Linked DNA regions of Homo sapiens: regions 1, 2 and 4 are each linked to region 3. The links are contacts of gene promoters, found by promoter capture Hi-C in human tissues and cell types (Jung and others, 2019). All regions are on one chromosome and are shown on one strand. The core of a region is centred on a gene start or on the middle of the fragment in contact, and the rest is flanking DNA. Distances in the headings are between cores, read along the strand shown. Region 1 overlaps ASTN2 (astrotactin 2). Region 2 overlaps ASTN2 (astrotactin 2). Region 3 holds the start of ASTN2 (astrotactin 2). Region 4 overlaps LOC105376242 (a long non-coding RNA gene).

Evidence for each region. Contacts are between HindIII fragments. The study calls those that stand out against the background at their distance.
Region 1: a contact is called between a fragment that was not itself captured here and the fragment with the promoter of ASTN2 in region 3, in 9 of the 25 tissues and cell types used here (H1 embryonic stem cells, adrenal gland, aorta and 6 more).
Region 2: a fragment that was not itself captured here is called in contact with the fragment with the promoter of ASTN2 in region 3 in 8 of the 25 tissues and cell types used here (H1 embryonic stem cells, adrenal gland, bladder and 5 more).
Region 4: a contact is called between a fragment that was not itself captured here and the fragment with the promoter of ASTN2 in region 3, in 1 of the 25 tissues and cell types used here (adrenal gland).

The regions. Positions count from the first base shown.
Region 1 is chr9:117,367,902-117,371,275 of GRCh38, reverse strand. All of the region lies in intron 1 of ASTN2 (astrotactin 2), which reads left to right. Among named protein-coding and RNA genes, the nearest start is that of ASTN2, 45 kb to the left of the region's middle. The HindIII fragment of the contact is 5,052 bases long and covers 1-3,374 here.
Region 2 is chr9:117,349,691-117,352,879 of GRCh38, reverse strand. All of the region lies in intron 1 of ASTN2 (astrotactin 2), which reads left to right. Among named protein-coding and RNA genes, the nearest start is that of ASTN2, 64 kb to the left of the region's middle. The HindIII fragment of the contact is 3,423 bases long and covers 20-3,189 here.
Region 3 is chr9:117,413,354-117,416,613 of GRCh38, reverse strand. It overlaps ASTN2 (astrotactin 2), which reads left to right and starts at 1,557. Exons shown (of 23, transcript NM_001365068.1): 1 at 1,557-2,117. The coding sequence starts at 1,676. The HindIII fragment of the contact is 9,596 bases long and covers 1-3,260 here.
Region 4 is chr9:117,461,844-117,465,208 of GRCh38, reverse strand. The region is part of intron 1 of LOC105376242 (a long non-coding RNA gene); the gene reads left to right. Among named protein-coding and RNA genes, the nearest start is that of ASTN2, 48 kb to the right of the region's middle. The HindIII fragment of the contact is 4,274 bases long and covers 1-3,365 here.

The sequences.
Region 1 (3,374 bases), core at 92-2,591, 45 kb after region 3:
GTGCGGAATGTCCAACTGGATTTAGTCTTGGCCTTCCCTCGGGATTGTTATGGGTATTTGATAATGTAGGGACATCCAGCTGGGTTTACTCTTGGCCCTCCCTTAGGATTGTTATGGGTATTTGATAATGTAGGGACATCCAGCTAGGTTTAGTCTTGGCCCTCTGTTGGGATTGTTTTGGGTATATGATGAAGTAGGGACATCCAGCTGGGTTTAATTTTGGCCCTTCTTTGGGACTGTTGGGGGTATTTGATAAGGTAGGGACATCCAACTGGATTTAGTCTTGGCCTTCCCTTCAGATTGTTGTGGTTATTTAATAATGTAGGGACATCCAACTGGGTTTAGTTTTTGCCCTCCCTTGGGATTGTTGGGGGCATTTGATAATGTAGAATTTAAGCTTAGGCCAGGAGTTGTGGCTCATGCCTGTATCCCAGCTACTTAGGAGGCAGAGGTGGGAGGATGACTTGATCTCAGGAGTGTGAGGCTGCATTGAGAGAGCTATGATTTCATCACTGCACTCCAGCCTGGCCAACAGAGCAAGACTCTGTCTCTAGGGGGAAAAAAAAGAGTTTGACATGTGGGGGTTAAAGGAACCTGAATTTAATTTCTGGACACTTATTAGCTGCCTGATCTTAAGCAGATTACTTAATTACTCTGACTCATTTTCTTGTTTATATTTAATAAAATAGGAGCTATAATAGTACCTACTTTAAAAAGGTTTTGTGAGTATCAGATGACTGAATTAGGTAAAGTGCTTTCTAAACTGTAACATGTTCTTTGGAAGATTGAAGAAGGCTAGAACATGGATGACATTTTTGGCCATCTATTTCTTTTTCAGATACTTCTTTCTCCCAGTACCACCCTGAGGACTCAACAACAGCTTAGAGGCCGTGTGCCTTTGGTGTTCACCGAGGCATTGCTGGGCCAGGGAGAAACAGGGTGATTGATTTGTTTTCCATTGACTGTGCATGATGAAAAGTTGCTTTTGTTTTTTGTTGTTTTTTCCCTTTTCTTCTTTTGTCCTGGGAATTATATTTTTCGTTGAGTGTTGTTAATGGAAAGCACTGAACCAAATTCCCTCAAATTGAATTTGGCTGTCTGAATTGTCTGTTCTCCATCTTCTCTTTCCCCGCCCTCATCTACCTCAAAGGAGGAGCCTTCACATTTATATTCATAATCATTCATGGGCTTCCAAGTGGGGTTAATAGAAGGGTGGCAGTGTGGAGGGAGGTGGGTAATATACCTGGACTTAGGGCCAACCTGTAGCTTCCCGCTCATCGCTTGTTAACTAGCGTGCCATGACAAATATGAATTTTTTTTTAATGTAATAAAGAGGCAACCTGGGCCTGTGGAATCCCCAAAAGACCAGAAGTTAGAAGGGTGTGGATGGGGTTCCTCCTCTAATGCTTAACAGTGTGTGCCCTTAGGGAAATCAATTCTCTTGTTAAAGCCTCTGCATCCCAGTTTATTAACAGGAAAAGTACCAAATGATCTTCCTGCCTCAGTAGAAGAACCTATAAGACTTCACTCACTTACTCATGTGTTCATTTATTCTTTTAGCAAGTATTCATCAAGTGCCTACAGTGTCCCAGGGACTGTGCTTGGTAGTGAGATTATGACTCTGAACAGGATATAGTTTCTGCCTTCAAAGAGTGTTTAGTCTAAAAGAATGACAGATAATAGATAGTAGACAGATGACTTTAAGATCATATAATATGTCATACTTAAAGCAAAAATGGCCTGGATTGTGGGGTCAGGCAGGCAGGGTCTATATGATCTTGGGCAGGCTATTTGACCTGTAGGAGCCTCAGTTTTCTACCATATGAAATGGGTATTGCAACCTCCTTGCAGGGTTATCGTAAAGAGTAGAGATACTGTGTTTGCTGTTCACTGAATGGTGCCTGGCCCCTGAAAAGCACACAATAAATGGTAGCTATTATTATTAATAATGATAATATTAAAAATAGATGGAAAAGCACTTTTAAGCTACAAAACCTACCCAAATATAATGAATCATTATAATCATGTTACATGGAGGCTTATTTCCCAAGAGGTTCCAAGAGCAATCAGGATCACTGGTGCCTAGAAAAAGAAAATAATATAATTAACAACAAGTAGAAGAGCTTTGCATTTGAATAGCACTCTTCCAGGTTTAACAAATAGCCATGATGGGGAAAAACACTTAGAGAATTTGTTAATCCAGGCTGGCCTGTGCTTTTGTTGGCAAGTATTATCTTGTGTTTGTTGTAAGATTTTCTATCTTCATTAGCAACACTTTAGTTTCCCTTAAGTAAATGATGATTTAGATCAATTTACCCCGTTTTACTTGACCTAAGTTCAAGCAGAACTATTCTGTGCCAACACCTGCAATCAAGGTTCAGGGCGTTCCTTAAGCTTATAAATGATTGTTCTTCATACTGTGTTAAAGGCACAGTAATCCTTTGTCAGTGGGGACTTGGCCAACTGTGGCTTTGTGATAATGGGATTTTTATATTTATAAACCAACATGTTAAAAATGTATGTTATTTTTATATATGAGTTTTTCAGATCAGTTCTTCTAAACAGCACATGACAATTGTTATTCTGGTCCCCTGGAAACTAAGGGAGTTCTGACGAATAGTATAGAAAAAAAGAAAGTTGTTTACCTTCACCTTTCAGTACAAGATTAGGATACTGTCTCTCACCCCTGTGTGTTAACTCAATGATAATGGAAAAACTCACCTGTTACACACATTGCAAAAATTAAGAAGGGAGATGGAAAGTATAATTCTATGCTTATCCTACTCAAACACAGCAGATTCGTTTGTTCTTTAAACTTTAAAATTAGATACAGATTTTGTAATGGAAAATGGGTATGATCATTTTCTTCAATTTCAATACCATGGCAATGTTTCTGGAACATTCTTTTTGTGTTTTTGTTCCAATGGATAACTTCTTTTGTTTGTATTGAGTATAAGATTAAATTGTGAATGTGTGTGTGTGCATGCACATGTGTGCGCATGTGCATGCACACCCACTGGTATATTTCCAAAACCCCCCTATTTGATAAGACTTCTAGATCCCTGGAAGCTATTTTTGTTGCTGTGCCTTTTCAAGGGTGATGAAGAATTGCTACATAAACATTACACTAGTTTTTTGAATCCCTTATCCTTAGTTGCTGCTTAAAGTCTGCTGACTTGCGGATCGTTAGCTTCCAGAACATCATCTTCTATTCAAGCTCACTTTTCTGGTGGTCAGGCTGGGACCTGGGATTGGCATTCTATTTACAAGCAAGAAACTAAGGAGCTGCAAGTGGAAGTTGTTTGTGAAAAGAGCACATACTCCATACCATGGAGTGAAATATTGTACAGAACTCATATGATAATAAGATAGGG
Region 2 (3,189 bases), core at 482-2,981, 64 kb after region 3:
AAAGCTTCATCCATGATGAGGCATATGTCAAAGCTTCATTCTTTTTTATGGCTAAATGGTATTCCATTGTATGTGTATATTACATTTTATTTATCCATTCATCTGTTGATGGACACTTGGGTTGTCTTTACCTTTTGGCCGAGCGATGAAATTTTGAACAATTTGCTTAGTTTCTCTGAGTTTCTTTTCAATAAAATGGATATCTTAATCCTTAAATTCTAGAATTATTGGATAAACTAGAAGAAACACTAAAGATAAAGTGCTTGGGATGGCTTTCCCAGTTCAGTAGTTGGTAATTCTCCTACCACTCTTTGTCCACTTCTGTCTACTATCCCTTGGTGCCTCAATCCCTGTGCATTGGAAGCTCAACAACTGTTGGCCAATTGTGGATTCTTTCTGGTCTCATTAGCTCAGCTCTGATTCTTGGACTGTAAAATGTGAGGAGAATATTTTGTTTGACCTCTGTGTGTTTAATGTGTAGGAGGTTCCAGGTTGGTGGAGATAATATCTCTCAAGTGTCACAAGTTTTGGGATGCAGATGGTGGCCCATGTTCCTCATTAAACTAATAATTGCTCTCAGGGAAAGTACAGCGGAAATCAGTACTTGACATTTTAAAGGTAGATGAAGTCATAAGAAGATTATGACTTGGCCTTGAATAGCGTTTCTTGGGCCAGATTAGAAATTCTCATGAGAGAGTAATTGTTTTCTGGGGTCTGACCTGTGTTCTCCTCAGCCCAGGGCTGAAGACACAGCCTGTGAGATTCAAGGGACTGTTTCTCTCTGATAAAGGTATATTGAGAAGTCCAGGTTTTCCTCCTCAAAATGGACTCAAATGTTGGGAAATCTTCACAGTTGATTCAATTAAAAAGATATTAATAGTAAGCGGTGTTTACTTAGGACATTTTTATCTGTATCCCAGGGGCTTAGACGATGAGGACATTTAATAAACTCACGTGACTAAAAGCTTTGGTGATAGGTGACTTTGCAGCTCCAGATGTCAGTGTGCAGGACTAGAATCTCTCTGGTTGTCTTGGCCTTCTCTTTGGGGCTCCAAGATGGCTATAGCACCCCCCATCCAAATTAATGAACTAATATAGCATCTAAAGCACACATGAAGAAAAGGGGCAGAAAACAGAGCTTTCCCTGTGAACTTTTTCCTTTATTACAACAAAACCTTTCCAGAAGTGCCTCCAAAGATTCCACCTCATAACTCATTAACCAAAAGGTTATGATTGGCCACCTATATATGCAGAGAAGCCTTTTCATTTTGTATAGAGAGAAATTTGAAAATTGTAGAGACTTGAAGGGAGAAACAGTTTTTATTGTTTGTGTAGTCAGGCAAGGTTTCCTGGGGGCAGTGATATATGCATGAAGTATTGAATGGTAGTGTAGGATTTTGACTCAAGTAAAGGCAGCTTAGGCCGAGAAAACAGCTTAGCATAAGCATGAGATTTGGGAATTCAGATTTTTTTTGTTTTGTTTCAGTTTTTAAAAGATGTGGTATTGGAATACTTGTGGTAAAATGCAATAAGAAAGGAAGAAGTGAAATACAAAAAGTTTCTCGAAAGTTATAATAGACCTTGAGCGCCATGCTTAGACGTTTGAATTTTGCTCTGGAGACACTGGGTAGGTATTAAGGTTTTTGAGCTGGGATTGCCGTATTCTCTTTTCCTTAATCCTACCAATTCTTTATAGCTTAGATTTGCCATCATGGATGTATCTTAAGTTTTTTGTTACTTCATTTCTCAGTTGCTCCCAGTTGCCCATATCTTTTCCTAAATGCTCTGTCATGCGCTTCTGTTAAAGAGAGTAGCAGTGTAGACGTTGAGGGTGCAAGGAGAGCAAGCAGGCTTCCACCTTCAGTCTCTCAAGTAAAAACATATAAAGCAATCCCCTTTTCACCTATCCACCATGCAACATGGCGGTCGTGCCAAAGCAGGGTCCCCTAGGATGGCTTAATTGTGATTTAACGTGCTGTTATCTCCACTTTGTGACTTGAGTACTGAACATAACTTGCTGCATGTCTTTCCCAGCTCACCGAACTTCTAGACATTTTGTTCATATATGACAAGCTTTCTCTGCTCTAAATGCTTTGCTAACTTGCTAACATTCTTAGCCTAACGTAGAAGATTCTTTACAGTATTGTCTTCATTTCCCAGCCTCATTCCCCACTGCCCAGCGTGCTCTGCCATCATATCAAATACACAAAGTGCTCTGAGCACATTTTCTCTCATTCTGGACCTATGTTTCCCTCTGACTACACTGTCTCTGATTTTTCTTTTCTTTTCTTTTTTCTTTTCTTTTCTTTCTTTCCTTTTTTTTTTTAAGATGGAGTCTCGTTCTGTTGCCCAGGCTGAAGCGTAGTAGCACAATCTCAGCTCACTGCAACCACCACCCCCCTATCAGCTTCAAGCAATTTTCCTGCCTCAGCCTCCCAAGTAGCTGGGATTACAGGTGCCCACGACCACGCTTGGCTAATTTTTTGTATTTTTAATAGAGACGGGGTTTTACCATATTGGCCAGGCTGGTCTCAAACTCCTGACCTCAAGAAATCCACCCACCTCGGCCTCCCAAAGTGCTGAGATTACAGGCCTGAGCCACTGTGCCAGCCTTGTTTTTTATTTCTCTATTCTCCAAACCTTTCTTGCAGGAGTAATTAATCTCTCAGAACCCTTCTGTAGTACTATATCTTTTTTCTTAGACTTTTAATTTTGGAAATGTTTTAGATTTATAGAAAATTGGCACAGATTATACAGAGACTTTCTATATACCACTTACCCAGCTTCCCCTAATGTTACCATCTTACATTATCATGGTACATGTGTCAAAACTAAGAAATCAACATTTGTATGTTGCTGTTAACTATACTATAGACTTTATTCAGATTTTACTCGGTTTCCACCAATGTCCTTTTTTTTGTCCCAGTGTTCAATCTGTGTTGCATTTAATCCTTATGTCTACTTGCTTTCCTCTGTTATGTGACAGTCTCTCAGGTTTTCCTTTAAAAATTATCTTAACAGTTATGAAAAGCACTGGCCAGAGGTGAAGTCCCTTTGTTATCATATTGTATCATATCATATCAGGGAGTCTCTGATATCATCCTGACTTATTGCTGATGTTAGTCTTCATCATTTATTTGGGGCAGTGTCCATTGGGTTTTTCCACTGCAAGACAATTATTTTTCCCTT
Region 3 (3,260 bases), core at 308-2,807:
CTTCACCTCCCTGACCACCTGATCTCAGTTTCCTCACATGGAAAATGGGAATCATAATATCCATCTTTTTGGATTATGGTCATGTAAAAAAGCTAACATACGTACATGTCTAGCATTTGGAGAATGCTTTAAACACATTAAGTCCAAGGTCGCAAAACAGCTTTTGCTTTTTTCCTTATTTTCAGTGCTCTGCCTTTATCCAACGTTATTAAAAAATATATGATGAGAGAGGAGAAAAGCAATTTATATGAAGGGTTAAAGATAGAAAAGGGGAATGAGACAGAAGAGGGAAGAGCTAAGAGAAAAGTGAATGCATAGAGACAGCACAAAAGGTGCAGATGGGTAAGCTAGACAGAGATGAGAAGTTGCTCACAAATTATAGGAAAGAAGCATTTGTAAGATTAAAGTCAAGATGAGAAGGAAGGAAATGAATGGAGAGATGAAACAGAAAACAGAGACAGGGAAGATGAAGAAAAGTAGGGGAGTGGGGAAGGGGCTGCACGGCACTTGACCCATGCAGAGGTGTCCGCTCCCTGGAGGGTCTCAGGTATGTGGGTCAGAGACAGAGTCAGCCCAAGACCAAAGGGTGCTGAATCTGAGGACCTAGCTCAACTTGAGTCTAGAAAGACTGCAGGTGAAGAATTGGTGAGCACTCCCGTTCTCTGGGACTTGGGCAGAGGATCTAAAAGACCCGGGAGCCAAGGACAGACAGAATAGTAGGTCTCTACCTCACACCCTTTTCAGGAATTTCACACAGAGAGCAGAAGCAGCCAAGTAGAGCTGCTCCAAGCTGGGAGCAGGGATCCAAAATAAAAAAGCGTGAGTGGGCTGGCTTGCAGGGCGGCAGCTAGGGGGCCAGAACAGCCCGGCTTCAGTCAGTTGTGGGGTCGGCGTTAGACGGTGGAGTTCGACGCCCCTCTGTCCATTAGCAATTAGTGCTAGCACAAGGCCTGGATGGAGGGGAGAGGAAGGTTTGCGGGCAGTGGGAGAATGAATGCAGGAGTTGTGGCCAAGTGGGTGGGAAGGGGGCTCTGAGGCTACAGGAAGTTATTTCAGAGACTAGAAAAGGGTAGGAGATTGGAGAAAGGACTTGTTCTTGGGCCTGAGGGGAGACAAAGTTAAGTCTTGGCTATCCAGGGGGCTCCCTATCCCCAAGAAGGCGGGGCCTTGAGCAAGGCTGGGCCAAGGCGCGCCCCCAGGTGCAGCCTCTGGGTTGAGCCGAAGGTGGGGTGAAGCCAGGAGAACTGGGTTGAGTCAGGGGGGCTTGGGGGGGCCCGAGGGGGCCCTAAGTATTAGGAATTTGGGGAGTTTAGGGAGGGGTGTTGTGGCTAAAGAATGCTGTGAGGGCGGAATTGGGGGATCTTGGGAAAGGGGAGGGAGCCACTGGGACTTGCACGAGGCCGGGCGGAGCCTCCGAAACGCTCGGGGTCTGCGGGGGGAGCCGGAGATCGGGGACGGGCGGCTGGGCCCCGGGAGGCGGCGCGGGGGGGCGGTCCAGGGCCGATCGGGAGGCGGAGCCCGGAGCTGGGGGCTGCTGGCGAGCGGCTCTCTCCGCTCCTTAGCTCGGGCGTCCTGGTTCGCTTCGGCGTCCGCCGTCTCCGCAGCTGCCTCCTCTTCCTCCTTCGCCACCGCCGCCACCGCCGCCGCCGCCCGCAGCACCGCAGCCCCTCCCGCCATGGCCGCCGCCGGCGCCCGGCTCAGCCCCGGCCCCGGCTCGGGGCTCCGGGGGCGGCCGAGGCTCTGCTTCCACCCGGGGCCGCCGCCACTGCTGCCGCTGCTGCTGCTGTTCCTGCTCCTGCTGCCGCCGCCGCCGCTGCTGGCCGGCGCCACCGCCGCTGCCTCGCGGGAGCCCGACAGCCCGTGCCGGCTGAAGACCGTCACGGTGTCCACACTGCCCGCCCTGCGGGAGAGCGACATCGGCTGGAGCGGCGCCCGCGCCGGGGCCGGGGCTGGGACCGGGGCCGGAGCCGCCGCCGCCGCCGCGTCCCCGGGCTCTCCTGGCTCTGCCGGCACCGCCGCCGAGTCGCGCCTCCTGCTCTTTGTGCGTAACGAGCTGCCGGGGCGCATCGCGGTGCAGGACGACCTGGACAACACCGAGCTGCCCTTCTTCACCCTGGGTAAGGCTGGGCGCCGGCACGCGCTAGATCCCAAGGAACCCCGAGCCCCTGCGTCATGCCGGACGGGTGGGGGCGCCCTGGGGATCCCTGCCCGGGGCTGCCCCGAGTGGGGTTGGCAGAGGGTAGAGGAGGGGCCCAGAGGTCGCACAGGTGGTTGGAAACGAGCATGTGGGAGGAGGTCCTGGAGAGCGCGCGGCGGGAGCCTGGGGGCGTGCCAACCCTCCCGCAGTGGGAACCTGCCCCTCTGCCTCTCAGTCCCGACCTGGAGCTCTGCTTGATCCATCCCGGAAGCCGGAGACCCCATTCACTGAAGGTGCTCTGGCTAGGGGCCGGAGCATCCCAGATCCTAAGCCAGTTTCAGGTCGAGCCTCCCACTTCTCCGGGTACCGTCACTGGCCACCCGCCGTCACCGCCCCCTCGCTCTCGCCTCGGAGTTGCGGGTTCTGCCCTTCCAGATGGATTTTCATGAGAGTAGGAATGGAGTAGTTCCGTGTGGAATCGCTCAACCCGCAAAAGCGTGGCTTCCGCATGGGCTGAGTGACCTTGGCCAAGTCGCTTCCCTTCTCTGAGCCTCAGTTCTGGCCATCTGTGAAATAGGGCTGGAGAGACTTGAGTGGTTGCTGAGAACTGGGATTCCGACTCCGAGGTCTCCACGTTTAGAGCCTCCCTCTACCCCCGTTACCGCCTTCCCTTTCTACCCACCTCCAGGCAGAGAGCCGGTTTGTCCTTGCAGCTCACTCCCTGGGCTAATAATAATTACTTAAAGGCAAGAAAAAGGAGAGGAGAGGAGATGGGTGTGGGTGGGGGGCTCCAACGGAAAAGTTAATCAGAAAAGTTCGCCAGCAGCTTGCTGCCTGCTGGTTCCCTGCGCGAATCCCGGAGGAGTCGGCCCTTCAGTGGAGCTGTGGGAAGCGCAGCTGATTTCCCACCCGGGTAATTGATAGCTTAATTATCTCGGAGAGCGTTTACAAAAATGTTGTTCCCCTTAGCTCTCCCGCGCTCGCTGCTTGCTCGCTCTCCCCTCCCCTCTTGGGGGCGCGGGGCCTTATTGGTTGTCGGAGTCTGGCCAACAACAGCGCCCGTGAGGCGCCAGGGGCTCGCCCAGACCCGGAGCTCTTCTTCCCCGGGTCTTTTCCTCGGCGG
Region 4 (3,365 bases), core at 283-2,782, 49 kb before region 3:
CAACTGCCAAGGCCCAGGCATCTTGGCTAGGGATGTAGAAGGGCCCTATTCTGATCCCATCTGTTCAGAGTTGGGGAGAGAAGCCAGATCTCCTCCCCCTTTCCTCTCCCCTCAATCCCAAGCTCTGTGGATGAGTAGCTTTTCAGAGATGAAAAACCAGAGCCCTGTCAAACAAGTCATCTTGCTTGACAAAGATAGAATCTAAATATAGAAAGGTACAGCTAAACTCCACCGCAGAGCAAGCAAACCCAATCTGGCACACAGCTTTTGGGGGTTTCCTCTCCTACTATGGCCCCTAGCCCTGTGCCCAGGACATAGTGAAGGGTCAGTAAATGTTTGGCTACATTGATCTGCAGAATCCTCACTAACACCCCTCCAGCACAAGCACAGGTCTGTTGAACAAACATCCCCATAGAACCCAACGGATCTGCCCTAAAGCCCAAAGAGCCTTGGCCCCTCACCTATTGGGAACATCTTTCCAAAAATACCACCACTTTCAAAGGAACTCCCCTGAGAATGGGGGTGGAAGTCTAATGCATATATTTTGCTCTGCTATGTGTGAAGCATGGTATATCCACTACTTTATTCAGCCTTTGCCATTGCAAGGATAGAATTATCCCCCTTTTATAGATATGAACACTGAGTCTAAAAGATTAATGGATTCGTCCAATGCCACCTTGCTGGAAAACTCAGGCCCTTCTCCCCTGTTCCAGAGAACCCAATGTCATGATGGAGGGATTCATGCTGCTTGACCCCATCGATGGCCGTGGCTTCCCATAATTGTTCATCTCAGGATCTCCAGGGCCCTCTTTTTGTTTAATTAAGATTAATGGAATCATATTTCTTGGAGCCAAAAAAAAATCTTATAGGGAGCATCAAAGTGAGCTTCCTGTTCTCAAAGTGGTAACAGGCTACTCCAATGGCACATCAATGTCCTAGGGTTGCCATAAGAAATTAGCACATACTTAGTGGCTTAAAATAACACAAATTTATTCTGTCATAGATGTAGGGATTACAAGTCTGATATCAAGTTGTTGGCATGGCCATGCTCCCGCCAAGGTCTCTGGAAAAAAATTCCCCTTTGCCTCTTCCTACTTCTGGTGGTTACCAGCAATTTTTGGCATTCCTTGGCTTGTAGCTGTGTCACTTCAATTTATGCTTGTGTCTTCACATGGCTGTCTTCTCTCTGTGTGTGTCTGTGTCTTTTTCTCTGAATCCGCCTCTCCTTTCACTTATAAAAATCCTGGTCATTGAATTTAGGGTCTACCCTGATGCAGTATGACCTCATCTTTATTTGATTATTTCTACAACACCCTATACCAAGTAATACCAAGTAAGATCACATTCTAATGTTCAGGGTATACACGAATTTTGGGGGGACATTATTCAATTTTGGGGGGACACTATTCAGCCCAGCACAGATGGTATAACATGGTGCCAAGGGAAGCGTACTCAGAAGTTCAACTGTCTGGGACTTTAATCCCGATCTGCAACTTGCTCACTGTGTGACCCAGAAAATCTCGTAACTTCTCTAAATCTCAGTTTTCTCTTCTGTAAGATAGGGATAATAATAGTACATACTTCAGAGGCTAGTTGGCAGGAGTCACTAAGTTAATCCATGCACAGTGTTCAGCCCAGTGCCTGGCACACAGTGGGTGCTCAAACAACAGCTTCTCTCCCTGCATGTTGGTCATTAGGGTCACAGGCTCTGAAGTCAGGCTCCTAGGGTAATATCCTGTCCCTATCACTTTCAATTGTAGGAAGATGGGCAAATTACATACCCCCATAAGCTTTAATTTTCTTACTATAAAACAGAGATAATAATTGTATCTACCTTATGGGTTATTGCAAGCAGCACATACAGTCACCCAAATAAAGTATATAAGAGTATCTTGTAAGTTCCCAGTAAGTGCTCACTCCTATGATATTGATGTTCCCCATTTGAATTCCTGTGGTATTATGCAATCATCTGTGCAATAGGAACCGGATTAGCAGAGGGTCCTGGGATTCTGGCAGAAAAAGACCAGAGCTTAGTGGCCCATCAGAAATTGGCTTTTCCCCAGAAGAGAGGGAACCACAGGGCCTGAGGTACTGAGGCTAGGCTTGTCTGTTTTGGGCAGTGGTCCAAGAGGCTAAAGCCCTCTCCTTTGGGGCTGGCTCATACCCAGTGAATTCATGGGAAATCTACGGGCATGCTGAAGCGTCTAGGCTAAGCACCACATGTACACACACTCCCACCAGTCTCCAGCTGCCAGATGAAGGTGACCTAGGAGATCAGGGTTGGAGGATGGCTGGGGACCCAGGGGTGGAAAAGCAGCATGAGCTCATTAGTAACTGACTGTTCCGGTGGAACAAAACCTCTCCTAGGGGCCATAACTCTGTCCCTGGAAGAAAGCATGATGAGAGGGAGGTGGCTGGGACTCCTGCAGCCTGTATCTGGGGCTGCGCAGTGGAAGCAAAGCTGAGTCCCCGCCTTCTTTAAATCCCCAGCATTTCCATGGAAAGAGACAAGTTGCTGCGTGAAAAAAGAAGGAGTTGGGGGAATTTGAAAGGAAGCTGAAAAGCTGGCGACAGGGCTTCCATTACGTAGACAGTCATCCTGACATGGTACCTGAACAAATCCCATCAAGGACAGATTCTCAGTCTTGAAGAGGCAGCACAGTAAAGGGGAAAGATCATGAGTTTTGGGGCCAGGTTCCCTTGGATATTGTGGGGTCCCCACACTTCTGGATGATGTTGGATAACTCTTTGAGACTTAGGCTTCACATCTGTAAAATGGAAATACTTATTTTTCAGAGTTGTCATAAACACTAAATGATTTGACTTATATCAACCTAATTCCTACTGGCTCATTGAACTCAGCTCAGCTGTCCCCTCTGTTCGGATGCCTTCCCCAGTGGGGCTTAGTTAGGTATCCCTGCTGGATACCCTGCCAAGCTCTTACACATTCCCTCTGCCATAACACTCATTCTTTGTTACTGAATTATAATTTCATGTTCATTTGTTTATCTCTCATACTAGGCTGTGAGTTCCCTGATGACAGAGAATGTCTTGTTGGTTTTGGAATTCCCAGTGCCCAACTTAATTCCTGGCACAGCTGAGTAAGCAAATGAATGAACGCCATCTAGTTGAGTAAAAATAAGTCTCGTTAGGCCGGATGGGTGGCTCACGCCTGTAATCCCAGCACTTTGGGAGGCCGAGGTGGGCGGATCAAGAGGTCAGGAGATCGAGACCATCCTGGCTAACACGGTGAAACCCTGTCTCTACTAAAAATACAAAAAAAAAAAAAAATTAGCCAGGTGCGGTGGCGGGCGCCTGTAGTAGGGTTTTTGGGCAACCGTTATTATCAAAGCACTCTGAAGACA